4 separate regions of the Homo sapiens genome follow, and all the other regions are linked to region 3. Evidence: promoter capture Hi-C in 16 types of primary human blood cells and fetal thymus (Javierre and others, 2016). All regions are on one chromosome and are shown on one strand. Each heading gives the region's core, a stretch centred on a gene start or on the middle of the fragment in contact. The rest is flanking DNA. Distances are from core to core; before and after follow the strand shown.

Evidence for each region. Contacts are between HindIII fragments. The CHiCAGO score rates a contact against its expected background, and 5 or more counts as called.
Region 1: a contact is called between a fragment that was not itself captured here and the fragment with the promoter of C4BPB in region 3, in 2 of 17 cell types (M2 macrophages and monocytes). The highest score is 6.3, in M2 macrophages.
Region 2: a contact is called between a fragment that was not itself captured here and the fragment with the promoter of C4BPB in region 3, in 1 of 17 cell types (monocytes). The highest score is 5.2, in monocytes.
Region 4: a fragment that was not itself captured here is called in contact with the fragment with the promoter of C4BPB in region 3 in 1 of 17 cell types (total B cells); the score reaches 5.4 in total B cells.

Annotation. Positions count from the first base shown.
Region 1 is chr1:207,259,683-207,262,533 of GRCh38, reverse strand. The region is part of intron 2 of LINC02942 (long intergenic non-protein coding RNA 2942); the gene reads right to left. All of the region lies in intron 1 of LOC107985251 (a long non-coding RNA gene), which reads left to right. Among named protein-coding and RNA genes, the nearest start is that of LINC02942, 21 kb to the right of the region's middle. The HindIII fragment of the contact is 1,860 bases long and covers 530-2,389 here.
Region 2 is chr1:207,223,459-207,226,158 of GRCh38, reverse strand. All of the region lies in intron 1 of LOC107985251 (a long non-coding RNA gene), which reads left to right. It also overlaps the pseudogene C4BPAP2. Among named protein-coding and RNA genes, the nearest start is that of LINC02942, 15 kb to the left of the region's middle. The HindIII fragment of the contact is 261 bases long and covers 1,247-1,507 here.
Region 3 is chr1:207,087,464-207,090,163 of GRCh38, reverse strand. C4BPB (complement component 4 binding protein beta) reads right to left here and starts at 1,304. Exons shown (of 7, transcript NM_001017365.3): 1 at 1,218-1,304; 2 at 575-682. The coding sequence starts at 632. The HindIII fragment of the contact is 12,500 bases long and covers 1-2,700 here.
Region 4 is chr1:207,328,773-207,331,472 of GRCh38, reverse strand. CD55 (CD55 molecule (Cromer blood group)) reads right to left here. Exons shown (of 10, transcript NM_000574.5): 6 at 177-365. Among named protein-coding and RNA genes, the nearest start is that of CD55, 8.4 kb to the right of the region's middle. The HindIII fragment of the contact is 5,587 bases long and covers 1-2,700 here.

The DNA.
Region 1 (2,851 bases), core at 210-2,709, 170 kb before region 3:
TGTTGGATGAATAATATTATCTCTCATTCTACAAGTTGTCTCTTCACTCCGTTGATTTTTTCTTTTGCTGTGTAGAAGCTTTTTAGTTAGATTAAATCCCATTTGTCTATTTTTGTTTTTGCTGCCTGTACTTTGAGGTTCTTTGAGGTTACAAATTCTTTGCCTAGGCCAATATCCAGGAGACTTTTCCCTAGATTTTCTTTTAGTATTTTTATAGATTTTGGTCTTACATTTAAGTCTTTAATCCATTTTGAGTTGATTCTTTAATATGGTGAGAGATAGGTATTCAGTTTCATTCTTCTGCATGTGGCAATCCAGTTTACCCAGCACCATTTAGTAAAGAGGATGTCTTTTCCCCAGTGTAAATTCTTGTCAGCTTTGTCAAAGATGAGTTAGCTGCAAATATGTGGCTTTATTTCTGGGTTCTCTATTCTCTTCCACAGGTCTATTTTTATACCAACACCATGCTGTTTTTGTTACTATAGCCTTGTATTATATTTTGAAATCAGATAACATGATGCCTCAAGCTTTGTTCTTTTTGCTCAGGATTGCTTTGGCTACTAGGGCTCTTTTTTAGTTCCATGTGAATTTTAGATTGTTGTTGCTATTTCTGTGAAGAATATCACTGATATTTATTGCTCGGGTTTCACTGAATCTTTAGATTACTTTGTGCAGTATGGTGATTTTGACAATATTAATTCTTCCAATTCATGAGCTTGGGATGTTTTTCCAATTCTTTGTGTCATCAATTTCTTCCATCAATGTGTTTTGTAATTTTTCTTATAGATGTCTTTCACCTCCTTAGTTACATTTATTCCTAGGTATTTTATTTTTTTGTTGCAATTGTAAATGGTTTCTTGACTTCCTTTTCAGCTAGTTTGATATTGTTGTATAGAAATGCTACAGGTATTTGTATGTTGACATGTACAATTATTTAATTTTATTAGATGTTTGTTGGCAGAAAAATTATGTTTTTCTTAATGTTCTCTAAATAATGCACTATTGATATTTATATTAACTGTGAAACAATTTTCCTATTATTTAAATATTAAAAAGTTTTTTTGCACATACAATAAATAGCTTTAACAGTCATCATTAATCATAGTAGTGTACATATAGGACATATTTATAGTAATACAAATATCATATATTTATTCATCAACTGACAGAATCTTAATATAAAGCACATAAGGAGACTTCTCACTCTGTGCCACATCTAGAATATATACTTAGATTCTTTGAAAAGGTTCACTAGTAACTCTAAATCTGAAGGGCTTTTTCTTTTTTTTTAGACGGAGTCTCTCTCTTGTCGCTCAGGCTGGAGTGCAGTGACGTGATCTCAGCTCACTGCAACCTCCACCTCTTGGGTTCAAGCAATTCTCCTGCCTCAGCCTCCTGAGTAGCTGGGATTACGGGCACTCGCCACCATGCCCAACTAATTTTTGTACTTTTAGTAGAGACAGGGTTTTGCCATGTTGTCCAGGCTGGTCTTAAACTCCTGATCTCAGGTGATCTGCCCGTCTCGGCCTCCGAAAGTGCTGGGATTACAGGTGTGAGCCACCGTGCCTGGCCTAAATGACATTTTTAATGTCATTGTTATTCTGATTAGAAGTGATTAGATATGACAGTCAGGAATGTCAGAAATTACATTGCAAGGGAAGTAGGGGGAGACTGATGAACAGAAGTTGGTTAAGGGATACAAAAATACGATTGATAGAAGGAGTAATTTCTGGTATTTGATAGTTAGCTATAATTTATTGTATATTTCCAAATAGCTAGAAGAGAACTGTAATGTTTTCAACACAAAGATAAATGTTTAAGGTGATAGATATCCCAATTACAATGATTGAATAATTACACATTATATACATGTGTCAAAATATTACATGCACCCCCAAATGTGTACAACCATAGTATAGCAATAAAAAATTAAAAATTAGATCTGGAAAGAGGGGAGGAGCAAGATAGTTGAATAGACATCTCCACTGATTGTCCCTCCTACAGAAGCACCAAATTTAACACTATCTACACAATAAAAGCATCTTCGTGAGAACCAAAAACTAGGTGAACACTCACAGTACCTGGTTTTAACTTCCTACTGCTGACAGAGGCACCAAAGACAATAGGAAAGACAGTCTTGAATTGCTGACACCACTACCCCATACCCTGGCAGTGGCCACATGAGGCAGAGAGAGAATCTGTGTGCTTGGGAGAGGGAGAATGCAGCAACTGTGAGACTTTGCATTGACCTCAGTGCTCCCCTGTCACAGCGAAAAGCAAAATAAGGCTGAACTCAGCAGATGCCCACCTATAGAGGAAGCAGTTTGAGGAGCCCTCACCAGATGGGAATCACCCATCCCAGTAGTTGGAATTTGAGTTCCAGCAAGCTTTGCCACCACAGGCTAAAGTGCTTTGAGGCCTAAATAAACTTGAAATGTAATCTGGGCCACAAGGACTGCAACTCCAAGGCAAGTCCTAGTTCTGAGCTGGGCTCAGAGCCCGTGGAACTGGGGGGCATGTGACCTACTGGGACATCAGCCAGGGCAGCCAGGGCTTGTGCTACCCCTCCCCAAACCTCAGACAGCACAGCTCGTGGCTCCAAAAGAGACCTCTTGCTTTTGCTTGAGGAGAAGAAGGGCAAGAGTAATAAGGACTTTGTCTTGCATCTTGGATACAAGTTCAGCTACAGTAAGATAGGGTACCAGTCAGAATTGTGAAGCCCCCACTCGAGGCTCTAGCTCCTGGATGACATTTCTAGACATACCCTGGGCCAGAAGGGAAACTGCTGCCTTGAAGAGAAGGACCCAGTTCCAGCAGTACCTCATCACCTGCTGACTAAAGAGGCTTGGGC
Region 2 (2,700 bases), core at 128-2,627, 140 kb before region 3:
AGTAGTGTTCAAGAGTGATAAACTGTGATCATTCATGCTATTAAAATATTGTACCATGTGTATATATTAATTATGCAAATTAAATAAATAAGTAAAGTGTAAATTTCTAAGTGCTGCCTCTGTCTAGGAGGAGACTCTTGTTTGACCTTTCATAGAGGCTCTACCTTCTTAGCAAGGGCCCTCAGTAAGTTTGGAGTTAACCTTTACATTGAGGGGCTGGAGCTGACCAATGTGAATTTCTGCAGGTGACTTCAGCCTCTCCAATTAGAACATATCCATCATCACAGTGACAGTGCACCAGAGTAGTAGAGAATAAAAAATGATCTCACATCTTCATAGGACCCATGGCCAATGGGAGGAACCATTCTGCAAACTTGAATGGTGAGAGAGAAGGTAGAGGAGAATGAGCTAGAGTTTCATTTAATGAACAATTCAGTGAGCGACCCTTCTCGTTATGCAGAACTAGGTCATTAACTTATTGTACTGCTGATGTACATTTCGTCTCCTTGACAAAATCAGTAAACTTTTACACTGTTCATGAACTTCTGGGTACAAAAGCATTAATTTAGCCACAGGGAGTTACTCCAAAACAGAATCATATTCAGTAATCATGAGGTTAAATAAAAAGAAAGGCCACAAATTAATTTTCAAAAAGCAGACAGTGCAATTTAAAAACAGCTGAGAGACTTGAATAGATGTTCCTATAGAGGGGCTATACAGATTGTCAACAGACATATTAATAGGTGCTTAATCACATGGGTCATCAGGAAATACAAATAAAAGCCACAATGAGAAATCACTACACACTCACCAGAATGTCTACAATTGAAAACTATGATAATACCAAAGTTTTCATGAGTAGGACACAATGGAACTCCAATGAACTACCTAAGGAAATATAAATTGGTACAGCCACTTCCAAAAACAGTTTGTGGTTATGTCCTAGAACCTGGCAATTACAATCATGGATATTTTCTTGGCAGAAATACACAAACATGTGCACTAAAAGACAAGCTCAGAAATGTTTTCAGCAACATTATTTGTAATGTGACCAAACATGAAAGAGCCTAAAAATCCATCAACTCTAGAACAGATAAGTAAATTATGGTACATTCAACTGATGGAGTACTAGACAGCAATAAAAATGAATGAGATACTATTTACAAAAAAATGGGTGAATCTCACAAATACATTGAGCAAAAGCAGACAGACCATTAATGTATAATTCTATTCCATTATTAAAGCTTTTAAAAATGCAAAACTAAGCTACAGAACAAGTATAAATAAAATAAAGAAATGATTACTCTGCAAATCAGGATGATGGTTACATTTGAAGAAGGATGAAGTAGTAAATGGGAGGGCCCCCATGGGACTTCTGGGGGCTGGCAATGTCCTACATCTCTACCTGGGTGACATTTTCATTAAGTGTTTGATTTTTGATGAATCATGTTGCTGTACATTTTCACTTTGTATACTTTTCTATATGTGTATTATATTCTAATAAGCTTTTTAAAAAAGAGTTGATTATCTTTGAAAATGGTTAAAGAGTGAATGAATCCGGTTGAGTCCCCCCACCTCTTCCAACTACCACCCCCTCCACAAAGAGAATGTTTTATCATTTTGCAATTTTTGGAGAGAGGTTTGTTGAAACAATGCAAAACAATGGCATATTTGGAAGTAAGAAATATGCAAAGAGCACTTTGGGAAGTTGAGGTGGGCAGATCACTTGAGGTCAGGAGTTCCAGACCAGCATGACCAACATGGCAAAACCCCGTCTCTACTAAAAATACAAAAATTAGTGTGGTGGAGCATGCCCATAATCCTGCTACTCAAGAGACTGAGGCATGAGAATCGCTTGAACCTGGGAGGTGGAGGTTGTAGTGAGCCAAGATCATGCCACTGCACTCCAGCCTGGGCAACAGAGCAAGGCTCCACCTCAAAAAAAAAAAAGAAAGAAAGAGAGAGAGAGAGAGAGAGAAAGAAAGAAAGATGCAATGTTGAGTTGTTGAGTTAGCCTGTCAGTAAAGGAATGATCTATAGTGCCAAAAGTTTTGCAGACAAGATTTAGTGCAATTTAATAAATTTAGAGCTTTGAGTATGTTGATAAAGCACCACACTAAGGGAAGAGTTCCTGTAAGGACTGAATCTAAGTTAAAGCTGTTTCCAACTTATTTGCTAAAAAGCAAATTAAAACTGCTGGCTCCTTTCTCATGGACTCCATCCTCACCAAGAACTACTCCTTCATGTGTGCACTGTTCTCAGGCACTCTCACCGGTTCAGTGTTCTCCTATTAAGCCATGTGCATTCTCACTTCTGTGCCTTTTCTTCTGCCATTTGCCCTACTACAATGCTCTCTACCTTTCTCCACATGCAATCCTGGCACGCGGTGATCATTCCTGCCTGTGGTTGCCTATGGCTCTCAATAGGAATGATATTTTGAGTTCTTAGCCACTTGCATTTTATATATGTTTATCATATATTTATTCTACAGAAAAGGAAACACAACCTTAGAGAGGTCAGTTATTCTGCATAAGATCACAGTTACTAAGTGCCAGTGACATGAATGAAACTTAGGGATTAAACTCAGGCTTCTATCAGTTCAAAACCCACTGCTCCTTCTTAGAATACTACTATTTTCTGCTCTCTATAGAAAGCATTAGGTAAGTACTTTATGTGGCAGCTTCAGAGGTGTAAAAGGCT
Region 3 (2,700 bases), core at 55-2,554:
AAGTAGCCGGGACTACAGGCACCCGCCACCACGCCCAGCTAATTTTTTGTATTTTCAGCAGAGACGGGGTTTCACTGTCTTAGCCAGGATGGTCTCGATCTCTTGACCTCGTGATCCGCCCACCTCGGCCTCTCAAAGTGCCGGGATTACAGGCTTGAGCCGCTGCGCCCGGCCGGAATTCCGAAGTTTTATTTTCAAAAGTATAACAGGAATTTTACTCAAATTCAACCACAAGTTGTCCACTTCTAAACAAATAGTCCCCTACACAAATAGCGATCCTGGAGTTTATAACAAGTAAGACCTCCCAGGATTTTGAAATTGGTACTCTTTTTGCTCCCAGAACAGAAAGGGAAAGTAAAAAAACAGTAACCACCCACTTCAGAGATCAGGGTTATCATTAAATGTACACTAAGCTCCTATTGAGTGCAGAGCATTAGGCCAATTTGAGATTTTTCAATAGAAGAATAAAGATATTATAAATGTAAACTTCCTTAAAGCCCTAGACAGAGTTCCTCAAAACACCGCAAAAGGACACCAAATGCCTGTAAGCTGAGTTGAAGGAAAGCATACGTACCATCTGAAGCAGAAACTCGCCACGCAACCATAAGACAGCACGCACACCAAAAAAACATCTGGTGATCAAAGTCCTCTCCCCAGGCTGGAATTCACCCAGCTCAGACACCTGGTTTGAAAAAAAATAGATCTTCTAACACTGCTTAAGACCAACCTAACCACCTCCTCTCTAGAGAAGAGGTTATATTGATTTACCCTCCCTGGAGAAAATGAAAAGAAAAAATCTTACGACAGGAAATCAGAACAGCTGTAAGGAAGCTGGTATAGGGAGGAACTGCAAAAATACAAAGGGATGGTAAAAGAGTTGCCAGGTTTAAAACTCAGTTTCAGAAATTTCCTGGTTTCTGGGAATGCAAATCCAGTTGACCAGTCTTTTTGAAACGCAGGCTTATCCTTCCCCAACAAACATGGGCCAAATGGTCTTGCCATGACCTTGACTTCTGTCAATAGTTGCCAATGTTTACAGTCCAACTTCTGTAACTCTGGCCAGCACTGGGGAAAGAGAACGGGCTGTCAATCCCTGGTTCTTGCCCAGGTAGAACACAATTTTGAATGCTACCTCATCCTCCTTTCCTGAATACCAGATATCCTAAGGCTGTAAGCAGCACTGAAGACGAAAGCTCAAGGAAGTAAACTAACCTTACCTGTCTCTGTCCCTCCAGAGTTAGGGCTTCCCAGCAAGGAACTGGTCTTAACTGACTCCAAAGCTGAGAGCTCCAAAGTCCTGCAGTGACACATTGTTCTCGCTTGCCAGGCCTGTACCCAGGCTTCCTACTTTGTGGCTCTTCCAGGGACAGGATTTGGCCTGAGTCCAGAGTTAACCAAATGAGTAAAGAGAGAGGTGAGGAGAATGCTTTGGTCTCAGGAATTAAGGCATGTAAAATTGTTTTGAGGGATCCCATATCATCTTGCTTGTGACTACTATAACCCTTGGTTGGTTCTCTGTGCTGTAATTATGAAACTGGGGAAAAATTCCTACAAAATTTCAGGTTTTAATAGAATAATAAAGCATTAAGGACACAGTAAGGTTGCAAATGTTCTTCTCTTCTCCATCCATTACTACTGTTTGTGATGATTAATCTATGTCTTTCTCCTGAAAGGAATCAGGATATGCCACCCCCAAATATTTGGCGTTAAGATTCTTTTAAGCTGAAGATATTTGAGATTCAGTGATATGGAAAGGAACAGAGATTTTGGGGGCTTTCCTTATCTGACTAAAGGCAGCAACCTTGGAGATAAGGTTGCCATAAATTCCTTTTCAGGGTAGGTCTATCCTGGAGGGGAGAGCATGAGTAAAACATATTTCAAATTCCTTCTCCAGAGAAATTTCATGGCCTTGAAGGAGACAGAAAGAACACTCGTACTTATATACACAAACATTATCACAAAACTTTCTAATTTCCTACTTTTCCCCTGAAAACCCACTTGCCTTTCCAAAAAATAATCTGTTTTCTTTTTTGTTTGAGATGGTGTCTTGGCATGATCTTGGCTCACTGCAACCTCCACCTGCCAGGTTCAGGCCATTCTTGTGCCTCAGTCTCCCGAGTAGCTGAGATTACAGGCATGCGCTACCACGCCTGGCTAATTTTTGTATTTTTAGTAGAGATGGGGTTTCACCATGTTGGCCAAACTGGTCTTGAACTCCTGACCTCAAATGATCCACCCGCCTTGGCCTCCCAAAGTGCTGGGATTATAGGCATGAGCCACCGCACCCGGCCAATAATCTGTTTTCTTGTAAGTGCCTTTCTTCTCCCCACCTTCACCTATTAAGATGATGTATAAGCCCCAATTCTAACCAACTTTTTGAATTACTTATCACTGAGTTTTCCCACATGTACTCAAGTTACATGTATAAATAGAATTTTCTCTCCTGTTAATCTGTCTTAGTCTAATTTGCAGGTCCCAGCCACTGAATACAATATGGTAGAGGAAAGGTGTTTTTTTCCTCCCCTTTATTCCCACAGGAAACTGCTAACTCCAGGACAGGGTTTGTGTCTGATTTGTATTTGTATTCCCTTCCACGGTGCTTCATATTGCAAAGCAGTTGTCTGTTAAATGAATGAAAGTAATGCAGAAATAAATGAAAAAAACTGTCATCCAGAAACTCTACCACAGCCCCCAAAATCC
Region 4 (2,700 bases), core at 37-2,536, 240 kb before region 3:
ACAAGCCATAGACCCTTCTGAGAAGCTGTAGAAAAATTGTGTCCCACAGAAAAATACAAATATGTATATGTAAACATTTTACATTTTTTTCTTAGGGGGTTCATTGAATGTCTGCAACCCACATATAGACCTGAGGGTAAGAATAAAGCAAAAATATAACTATCCAAAGTGATTACCTCTGCATTCAGGTGGTGGGCCACTCCACTCTCCTTCATCATTATTCACAGTACAATAAATAGAGTGCTCTCCAATCATGGTGAATCCTTTATTACATGCATACGTTACAGACTGTCTATATCCATAATGGTCACGTTCCCCTTGAATTATTCCATTGTCAATTTGTGGTGGTGCTGGACAATAAATTTCTTAAAAAACAATTCCAACATCTTTTAAATAAATAAAACTAGTAAAGTATTTTTACAAATAAGATCAAAACATGTTAAAGATTATATTTTAAAGAAATCAAAATATCATTTTTCTAAATTCAGCATTACCAACAAGAGATGCTTATAAATGCCTATTAAGTAATTGGTAGTATGTGGGAGCTTTGAATGCAAATGGTGTAGAAGACAAATGCTAACCTTGAGACCAATTCATAGAAATAATAAGATTCAGAACATGTATGTAAAAGAAAAATTATAGTAAGATGTGTGCATATCAAAACGGTGCTAGGAAAAGTGAATGCTGCAGGATTTTAGAGATGAAAGCAGTGTAGTCAGAGAAGACTTGGGCAGGGAAATAGAACTTGAGTTTAAACCTAATATGTACCATGCTTTTGAGAGAGAACAGCGGAGAAAGCGTTGCTCTTCACTCTAAGAGGGAAACGCTAGCAAATGCAAGGAGTTGAAAATTCAAGCAGCATGTTTAAGAGTTAAGTATAGATCATTTTGGATACAGCAGAGATCTTAAATGTCAGGATTACATTTTGACTTCTAGAGTAAAAATTTTTAGCACATATGGACTCACAGAGACTTCACTCAAAACAATCTTACTGAGCAGCTGAACTTACAAAATAAATACAAGCAGAAGTTTTTTTAGTTATACTGTAAAAAGGGACCACTCCCTGGCAGTTACCCTGAGAAAAAATTCAATGGTTCCACATAATCTAAAGGCATGATGTTGTTGTCCTTTTTTTTTTTTTTAAGAATGAAGGCAATTTAATATGTGTGTATGCCAAATTATGTTACACCAAACATACTTAAGAACACAGAAAATACTTAGCACATTTATCAATCACTCTTTGGTCTTGGATCAAAACAAGCAGCAACAACAAGCTGTTCTGATTTACACTAACTTAGAGTGTGCAGAGACACACACACCATTGGTTCAGTTCAAACATTTTCTGAGTGCCTAACACACGCCAGGCATTTTTTTATAATTGGAAGCGCAAAGCTGAACAAGATATAGTTCCTATGTCTTAAAAGCTAGTGGGAAAAAAGATTCAGAAATGATTTCAATAAAAAATGCAAGGGTCATCCCGAAGTAGCCAGCCTGGGAATCTTTCTGATGGGCTAGGGAACTAACTCTTAGTAAGGAAAATATAGCTAAGTAAAGAAGGGGCAGCGGGGCATGGTGGTTCACACCTGTAATCCCAGAACTTTGGGAGGCTGAGGCGGGCAGACTGCTTGAGCCCAGGAGTTCGAGACCAGCCTGGACAACATGAGGAAGCCCTGTCTATGCAAAAAATACATAAATTAGCTGGGCATGGTGGTGTGCACCTATAGTCCCAGCTACAAGGGAGGCTGAGGTGGGAGGATCACTTGGGCCAAGGAGGTTGAGGCTGCAGTGAGCTGTGATCGCACCACTGCACTTCAGCCTGGGCAACAGAGTGAGACCCTGTCTCAATTTAAAAAAAAGAAAAAAAAGAGGTACATGGAAACCACAGCAGTTTGCATGTATAAGGCATAAAACATGAAGGCAAGACCTGAGTGTCAAGCAGTAGGTAGACCATGGCTGCCTTGTACACTATACTAAGGAATTTGGGCTTTTTAAGTGATAGGAGATATGAATAAGCTCTAAGGAGGAAATAGATGTCTAAGTCACATCTGTGTTTCAGATCGCTCTGGGTAAAATATGGATGAAACATTAATAGAGTGAAAGAATGGAGGCAGGAGGCCATTGCTATCAGTGTCACTCTTGAACTCAGGCAACTAAGATTGCTGCCTCAAACCCCACATTTTAAAAGGCTGTGCTCTGGCCCTCCTCTGGATGCATTTCTCCCCTGTTGGTGGGATGTTTGTAGGCTGATAGCATATACTCAATGACAGCCTGTCCTACGACTTCTCCTCCATTCCAGAACATGCTCCAGGAACTAGCACCCAGAATTCCCTGTGCCAACACCCCTTCCAGGGCCTGAGAGGGTCCCTCCCACTGGTCCATGTTCTTGAGGGTGGTCTATCCTGCTGATATACTCACCTCTAACCCAACAGACAATGGAGGGTGGATACAAGTTATGGTGGATGTGGTGGACATGTCTTGGGTATGTAGGCTGAGTTGTCCGCTTATGTGCACCAGAGAACCCATACAGTGTGGGAAGAGGAAGGGCTATTTGATACAAGGTGGGTCTTAGGCCAGCGACCTCCATTTATATTCTTGCCTGGGCCCTGAAAATGTTAGGGGTGGCCCTAATTGCAATAGTCCACAGGAGGAATAATAAACTATGCTAGAAATATACAGATGGAGAGCAAAACACAAGTTTGA